Linked DNA regions of Homo sapiens: region 1 is linked to region 2. The links are contacts of gene promoters, found by promoter capture Hi-C in human tissues and cell types (Jung and others, 2019). All regions are on one chromosome and are shown on one strand. The core of a region is centred on a gene start or on the middle of the fragment in contact, and the rest is flanking DNA. Distances in the headings are between cores, read along the strand shown.

Region 1 (4,574 bases), core at 1,497-3,996, 760 kb after region 2:
CTTTTTTGTCTATATTTTCTAGGTCTAGCTCTTATAGATCTCCTGTTAAAGAAGATTCTAATGCTCTACGCTCCTTTAATGATAAAAAAAAAAAAAAACCTGTATTGGGTAATGTGAACTTCAGCAAAAGAATAGATATGGGGGACGCCAAGGAAGGCACCTCAAGCCATTTTGTTATTTCCATTCAGGTTCTTTTCATCTTTGAGCATTATCATCATCATCATCATACTAAAGCCCTGTACACATATTATGTATGAAAAGGAAGTTGTAAGTACTATGGTTTGTAGATCCTGGGGAACTGCTTGATGCCATGAGGCTAGTTTGAATCCTGCTTTTCATTTCTAATGGTTCAGACACTGGACATGGGGGCCTGAGGGAGAAGCTGATGACTCACTTTTTCTGTTTGTACCAGTATGCTATTTTTGCATGCAGCTAAGTTTGCCAGAGAGAGAAAGGTCTTCTGGAGTCCCTCAGTCCTAATGTACTTTAAATGCTATACATAGAGAAGTAGAGAATCCAAGAGCTCAGTTCCCACACACTGGGCTTGCTCTCTAAAAGCAGAGGGATGTTTGAATTTAGGTATGTGAGCCCTCTTAGACTTGAGCTTTTAGGTTCAGGCTATTTCATTTAAGGTGTTACTGCTGAGGCAAAACATATACTATGAACAATTTGAGTCATGCCCATGGATGTCCCTAGAAGTACAGACAGATCAGAAATGGGACTGAGCTGAGCTCTAATACAAACCTTTAATTTTACCTACAGAAAAATAGAAACTCAGAAAGGTTAAATGCCTAGACAGAATTTATGCAGTTAATTAATGACAGCATCCAGACTTGATTTCAGACAAAGTAGCCATGGTGTTCTTTGAAAAGCCGTAAAGAAACCGAAGCTCAGAAAGAAAGTCAGTCGCTCTCAGTTGCTTGGAGGAGAGGTGAGTTCTAACTCAGGAGGCTGGACCTGGGAGGGGAAACACTCCATTCAAGGAGAATGATTCTCCTTCTCCTTGTCTAGACTTTTAGGAGTCCAAATGATAGACAAAGATGAAAATAGTACCTGTCAAGTCAAGTGCGATCAGGACATAGGAAGAGAAGGAGTCAGGAATAATTCCCTTTCCTTAGGGGTTCCATGTGGATGGAGTGGGCCTCTTAGATGTTTTGATTTTATAGGACTGTTTATTTCCTTGTTTCTGCTCTTCAGCATTTAGTAAAGGGCCTATTGATTTTCATTATTTTTAATTTCAGCCTTGCCTCAGCCTCAGCTGGACAATGGGGAGTTCATTGAAAGGGCTTTCTTTTTTCTGTCTGGGCCAGAGTGTTTGAAGATTACTACCCTCTGAGGCCAGCAGGATGGTGACAATGGAAACAGAGAAGGAGGCGAAGCAAGAGAGGATCTGGAAACAAGTTCAGAGCTCCAGAATCTGGTGCTCCTTCCTCCAGGGTATTTTCTTTCCAGTGCCAGCCTCAAAGGGATTGATTTTTATTTTTGCGCAAAATCCATTTAGGCCCTAGGTCAAAGGCCTCCTTTCTCACCAAGTCTCCACAATTTGCCATCTACCCCTTCAATGCTGTCTTCTGTCTTCTATAGTCCCTTAACTGGACAATCACTCCTATGCTTATAGTTTGGCTTGTATTCAAATTAGTTATGAATAGTTCTGTCCATCCCTTAAGACTGTAATCCTTCCCACAGCAGGGAAAGCATCATTTTTACTCTATAACAATCCTCTCCTCTAGCCCCTGCTCCAATAGACACCCGATAGACACTGCTAGGTGTCTATTACATACCTGCACCAAGTAACTAATTATACGGTAGTGTTTTCCACACTTTTATGATGACAAGAATTATGTGGTAGAACTGGTTAAAAAAAATTTCTCAGATCCCACCCTGACCCTCTGTATAGGAATGTCCAGGGGCAAAACCTAGGAAGCTGTTTTTTTTTTTTTTTTTTTTTTTTTTTGAGACGGAGTCTCGCTCTGTCGCCCAGGCTGGAGTGCAGTAGTGCGATCTCGGCTCACTGCAAGCTCCGCCTCCTGGGTTCATGCAATTCTCCTGCCTCAGCCTCCTGAGTAGCTGGGATTACAGGCGCCCACCACCACGCCTGGCTAATTTTTGTATTTTTAGTAGAGATGGGTTTTCACCATCTTGGCCAGGCTGGTCTTGAACTCCTGACCTCATGATCTACCCTCCTCGGCCTCCCAAAGTGCTGGATTACAGGCATGAGCCACCGTGCCCAGCCGGGAAGCTAAATTTTTAACCGGAGTTGCAAGTGACTCTTATCAGTAAAGTTTAGGAAACTCTCTTCCAGAAGGTGAGAAGGAGAGATAGCTCTATGCTGGGGTGGCCTTTTTGTGTCGAATATATTGGAGATGAGTATTGTGGGGTCAGAGGCTGTCAGAAGGGCAAATTATTACCAAACTTCATTCTTTCTGTTCCCCTGAAGTGAGCTACATGAAGCCCTGCAAAATCGCTCAGGAGCTGCGTAAAATGTCTCTCCTGGCATCCTCATTTGCCCTTGCCGTTGCTTTCAGACATGCAGTTTTTACAGTGTCTCAGTCCTTGTCTTCACTTCCTGGTCCCCCGAGTCTGAGTGTGATGCTAAAGCGAGAATGTCCTTGAATGTTCTTGATCTCGATGTGTCGGCCACTCTCGGAAGCCTTCTGTCTGCTCCCCACCCTTCCGGGCAATTCCACGTGTGTGACCCTCTCTCTCTCTCTTTCTTTTTTCTTTCCTTTTTTTTCCCCCTTAACTCCCCTCATACTCCATGTCTCTGTTTTCCCCCTGGGCAATGAGTGCAGAAAGAGTTTTTACGCACGCAGTGGTTTCCCACTGCTCTAAAGTCCAAACCTCTAAATGAGGCCCTGTTCTGCCTACTTGATTCAGACAGAGCCTTCTTTACAAGCAACAAAGATGGACTCAGTGAAAAGGGAGATTATTGGAAGGGTTCTCGGGGATCTATAGAAGAAACTAGAAGCAGGAGGACCAGACTTAGGAACGGGTAATCAACAGGGGAGCTGATCATCGAAGATTGCAGCAGGGGTCACAACAGAAGCATGAGCTGGCTGCTGAGGCCTCCGCATTATTTGGCCACTCTTTCAGGATACAAACCCCAGAATTAATTGACAACTGGATAAGCCCAATTCATGTGCCAGCTTCCTGTTGACCAAGGACAGGGCGGGAAGAGCTGCGCTTGGTTTTTCTTTTTAAGTGATAGACTGGAGCGTTTCACCAAGACTTCACTAAGAAGAGTTTCTCAAAAGGGAGAAAGTGGTGAGATAATAGAAAAAGAAGCTTGGTTGTCAAAGAACTTAAAATTGATGTGTCTTCTATGACAATGCTCCAGCCTTAAAAAAATGGAAGTGTTTGGAGAAAAATATAAATTACACAAAACTCAAAGGCTTTTTAAAAATTAATGTATTAGTCTGTTCTCATGCTGCTAAGAAAGACATATCTGAGACTGGGTAATTTATAAAGGAAAGAGGCTCAGTGGACTCACAGTTCTACATGGCTGGGGAAGCCTCACAATCACGTCAGAAGGCAAAGGAGAAGCAGAGTCATGTCTTACGTGGCAGCAGGTAAGAGAAGTGCTGAACAAAATGGGACAAAGCCCCTTATAAAACCATCAGATATCCTGAGACTTGTTCACTACCACGAAAACACTATGGGAGAAACCACTCCATGATTCAATTATCTCCACTTAGCCATGCCCTGCGTGGGGATTATTACAATTCAAGGTGAGATTTGGGTAGGGACACAGCCAAACCATATCAATGAATGCACCAAGTGGCCTTGTCTTCCTCTCTTTCCCTCTTTTTGCTCCCCCTCCTCCCATTTCCTCTTTTTCTCTTCTCTCTCTTTGCCTCTTTTTCTCCTTTCTCCCTGTCATTTTACTGGCAGTTATGTTCTTCTGTTCAGTATTAGGAAAGTTCCAGATGAACTTGGAGGAGGAAGTGGAAAAGTAAGACTCTAAGTTGTGAGAAAGGAAATTGGGATGAGGTGTGTCCATGGGAGTTAACGAATTAAAACCACTAAGAGTTTATCATCTTGCTTTAGCGTTGATTTGGGGTTCTTCTTTCCAATCCACAGCACACAGAGATGTTCATTTAAAATAGGTCCTTAGAGTTTGAGGGTCCTTCTAACATTTAACTCAGAGATTTCCCTGCAGATATTCCTCTGTAAGAAAATAATCTAGAAAAATTGGGGAAAAAGTTTATACAGAAAAATGCTCATTTCAGCTTTATTTATAACAGCCTTCAAATTGGAAACAACCTAAATGGGATGAGTATCTCCATGGTATGCTCACTTTATGGTATATTATGCTTACAAAGCATTTAAAACTTGGAAAATGTTTATTAAAAAGTGAAGTGAAAAAGCCAGTGCATAAAATGCTGCATAAAATATAATCACAATTACATAGAATAAGCTAAAAGAATAAAAACTTATCAAGTGAGAAAACACAGAAGTTAGACACAGCACTGTTACAGGGATTGCTTTTAGATAATAGGAGTCTTGGTGATTGACTTAAAAATATTTTTGTTTGTCGCCTTTTGCATGTCTTTGATCTTCAAAAATGCATTGAG
Region 2 (4,517 bases), core at 268-2,767:
CATGGCAAAGTGATCGAGAAACAGAATCCCCTGGTGTTCAGGCCAGAGCTGGCCAGATGGTACAGAAGATTATAAGCACTGGCTTTCAAATGGTCTTGCCTATACAGTCATCTGAGAGGGCTTGTTGGGAATAACAAAGAAATACTACCATTTAGATGGTTGGTGTCAGAGACCACCCAGGAGTGAGTTTAGGGATGAGCTCTGTGAAACTGCAAACTAACACTGTTCACCATTCCAATCAGTCAGCCAGGAAAATCAGTTTCCTTCTGAATTCTGTTACTGACATTAGTGACTGAACAACCTTGCACATATTACTTAGAGAACTCAAGTTCTTCACCTGTAAACCAGGGAAAGTAATAGCCAGCTCTCTAGGTCAGCAGGAGCTGAAGGTAAGTAAATGCCAGTTGCCATTCCTACTTCTCTAGGGCATACTGTATCTTAAGCTTCTTAGAGGATTTCTGAAGCGCTGTCATTTCTCTGGTAGGCCTTCAATTAACCAGCTCTACCATCGTCTTCTTGATATTTGAAATGATTATTCCTGGTGGTTTGGGAGGCCCCTGGAAATCCAAAGAACAACACTATTGAGGAGCTGCGCCACAGTATAGACAGAGACAGCCAGAGAAATAGCCATGTAGGTAATAGACAAGTAATACTCATAACAGAGAAGCCAAATGAGTAACACTGGTGTAAAGTAATAAAAACAGTATTGATAAAAAGTTCAGGCATATCGACACCTTTTAAAATCAAAGTATCCATATTTTGATGATAGTTATTTTCTTTTCTGTCTCATTCCAGTTTGTTTGCTTTATCCAATAAAAGCCTGGTAGAGATGACTCCCGGCACTTTTCAAGAGTAAGAATTTAACCCCAACTTTAACCTCACTTTTGAGCTCCTTACTCTTGTGAGTGGAAGGATGTCTGCGTGATTCCAAAGTCTAAGTCTCCTCTACACCAAAGCAGAAAGAAAATCGTATTACTTTAGAAAATGTTAAAAATATATTTCCACAGGGCTCCAGGAGTTAACTTATACTTTGAATGACCTACTTTGAATGGAGGCTTTCTTTCTAGAGGGCTTACTTAATGAAGGTCAGCCAGGAAAGCCAGCCATGGGGCCTGGTCTTTAGATTTCAGTTGCAAACAGTCGGGGAGTCCAAGCTCCAGGAAAAGAAGATTGAAAACATTTAGTCTTTTAATTTTCTGTGGGTAGGTATCCTGATTCTTTCTCCCAAAAGAATGAAAGGATCTTTAACAATTGAGTTAAGGGCTTTCTTCTTGCTCCTTTGATGCTATATATAAGGCCCAGACTTCCACTTTAGAAACACATTTTTACTTGCTGCTCAGGTCTTTCCTGATGATCATTTATGACAAGGAGATGACCATGAGATCCTCACTCAGAAGAACTGGCCTAATGAGTTTACCTGAACAGCGTGGAGAGCACCAAGGGATCTAGGCTGAGGTGTCCGTCTCCTGTGAGGAGGGGCGGCAGTGCAGAGACCTTGGGGCACTGGAAATTAGTAAGGCGGTGGGTTGAATTCTTCTCGATGCTAAGCAGTGCCCTTCAGCAGAAAACCTCCTGATAGGTCCGTTTTAGACTTGGTTTCCTGTGAAATGCAGCCACAGACCTGAGAGGTCTGACCTGAGGGCTGGCAGGACTTCCTCTTCTTAGGCTGGAGTGCAATACGTGAAGCTTTCAGAGGCTGAAATCTTCCAATGCAAAGGGTGTTTTTAAAGACACACGGTGTCCTTATGTGGCACTTCATAGTTACCAGAACACAATAAAAGGAACTGCTGGGCAACACTCAAGCATGGAAGGTGGGTTTTGCGAGTCTCACTTTATATGAATAGTGGACATTAACTATCATCTTTTGGCTTAATTTTGCAATGGCTTCCTGAGACCATCCCAGACACATGGACCAGGTGTTAAGGAAAGAACCTGGGAACTAAAGGAGAAATGCCTGCCTCTTATTCTTGCTGTATTAATTATTAGCTATAGGATCTTGGGCACTTTGAAGTTTATTTCTCAAGTAGTTTGAGTGATAATAATATTTGTATTTTAGAAACTTTTTTAAAAAATGAGGGATAATTGAGGATTATATTTCCTTCATTGAGGAAATGATATTTCCTCAATTGTGATGGAAGGATAATATTTATATTTTAGAAGTATTTCAATAAATAAACAAAATATTGTAAATAAAGGCATGCAGTAATGTTTGGGCACATATCAGTTGCTTAATACATTTTCTTTCGGCCTTAATCTTGGTCCATTTAAGCTGATCTTGCCGAGTGCCTGTTTCCTCTTCTGGAGACTTGACATTCTAGTTTTATATAAATTGATGTTGAATTCCATAACAAACTCCAACATTATTTACAATAAATTCAAAGGTAGAAGTTTATATTTTCTTGGGTAAATAACTCTGGTTTTGACTTAACAGACACCCCAAGGAAAACATGAAAATAAGCACTCTTTGAATGCTAATTGTGAGTCAGTTACATTGCTAAGCAACTTGCAAGCATTATCCTCCTTAATCTTACTAATAACCATGTAAGGAACATATGTAAAATCCCATTTTGTAATTGTGAAAACTGAAGACTAGGGAGACTCGAGTAGTTTAACCACTTTATTAATTAGCTTTTGCTGCATTAGGGGCTTAAAGCAGTAACCACTTTATTTAGTTCATAATTGTGTGTGTCACTTGCTCACTTCTTTTGGTCTGGACCCATATTAATTTTCTGGGGTTTTCATAACAAAGGACTGAGCCCTGAGTGGCTAACAAAACAGAAGGTCAAATTGTATTGTCTCACAGTCTGGCCTCTGGAAGTCTGAGATCAAGGAGTCGGCAAGGTTGGATCCTCCTGAGAGCCATGAGGAGAAGATCTGTTCCAGGCCTTTATCCCCGGCTTGTGGGTGTCTTTGTATCCTTGTTTTTGTGTTTACATGGCATTCTCCCTGTGTCTTTGTCCAAATTTCCCCTTCTTATCAGGAGAGGAGTCACAGTGAATGATGGCTCACCCTAATTACCCAATTTTAACTTGATTACCTCTTTAAAGACCCAGTCTCCATGTCAGAAGGCATTCCAAGGTAGTGGGGGGTTAGGACTTTAACAAATGAATTTTAGCTGGGACGTATTCGACCCATAACAAGACCTGATCATCTGGTCTGTGCTAGTGGGTTGAGAGGCAGTTGGATGATCTAAGATTATCACACTCATGAATCTGTTTGTTGGCAATCATGTCAGCCAGGTGCCTCTGTTCTCCTCTGCATAGCTTCCTGTTATCTAGTGGCCAGCTAGGCCCATGTACACGGTGGGTTTGGGGCACTAAGGGCAGTGGGAGAGGGGAAACTCCAGCCTCCAGCCTTTTCCAGGCCTCTGCTTGCATCCTAGATGCCATGGTCCCATTGGCCAAAGCAAGTCACATGGCCAAGTTCAGAGTAAATGTGGGAGAAGACTATTCAAGGGGTGAATGAAGAAAAGTGAATTATTGTGGTCTTCATTGGCAAATAATCTAAAAATGCATGTTCACATCCAATTGGTGGCTAGACTGCAATAAGAACCCAAGTCTAATGATATGAATATTTCTGCTTTTTACTCATGAAGAATTGAAGACAATTTGGTTTAATGAGAAAGCTGATAATAGTGTAGGTGATATTTAAAGCTTTTTTTCTTGGAATATCATTCATTAATTTATTATCTATTGAATATATACCATGCATCAGCAGCTCTATTAGGTGCTGAAAAATACAATTAGATAAGAGATATACCTACTCCTTTGATGGAGCTTACAGCCTAGAAGAGGTGAAAATAAATGAATGGACTTCAGATATATATAAAACTACAATTTGTGGTAAATGCAATGAATAGTGCCTGATCAGACATGTATTGATTTAACAAATAGATATTTACATCCTCTACCTACTACTATCAGCCACTGGGCAAGCTGTGGGGATATAGAGGTGAAAAAAAAAAAAAACTTGTCCCTACCTTCATGGAGTTTCGAATCTAATATAATAGAGAGGTATTGAACAAGAAATCAACCATCAAGATGATGTATTCAGAGACAGGAACAAAGAGGGCTCTGAAACAAATAGGAGGCGAATGTGTTCTACTCTGTGAATTCAGACCAGATTTCCTCTGGGGAAGTGACAAGAGATCTGAGGTGTTGACAATAGGTAGAAATTTGCTGGAGCAGAAATGGAGAAAAAAGAGGAGGGAAGAGGAGAGAAGGAAGGAAGGAAGAAACAAAAGAAGGCTTCTAAGAAAGAAAGAAGCAGGAAAGGGAAGAGGAGGGAGGGGAGAAGGGAAGGAGTAAAGGAGGTGTCCGGGATCACATTCAAGGCCAAAGATATTGTCAATCTGGATGCCTGGGTGGGAAAAACAGCATAGCTCACTAGAGGAGCCTATACAGCGAAAGGTGGCTAGCATGGAGAGGGAGCAAGGAAGAGCGTGACACAGAAGCAACAAAAGAGGCTCAATCTCAGGCCAGCTGCAAATTCCAACCTGCATGTTCTTGCTTCCTGTC

The links. The method cuts DNA at HindIII sites, captures the fragments that hold promoters and counts their contacts. A contact is called where the count stands out against the background at its distance.
Region 1: a fragment that was not itself captured here is called in contact with the fragment with the promoter of CLNK in region 2 in 1 of the 25 tissues and cell types used here (lymphoblastoid cells).

The regions. Positions count from the first base shown.
Region 1 is chr4:11,445,944-11,450,517 of GRCh38, forward strand. No RefSeq gene overlaps it. Among named protein-coding and RNA genes, the nearest start is that of HS3ST1, 19 kb to the left of the region's middle. The HindIII fragment of the contact is 6,395 bases long and covers 1-4,574 here.
Region 2 is chr4:10,683,251-10,687,767 of GRCh38, forward strand. CLNK (cytokine dependent hematopoietic cell linker) reads right to left here and starts at 1,518. Exons shown (of 19, transcript NM_052964.4): 1 at 1,418-1,518. The HindIII fragment of the contact is 5,072 bases long and covers 1-2,669 here.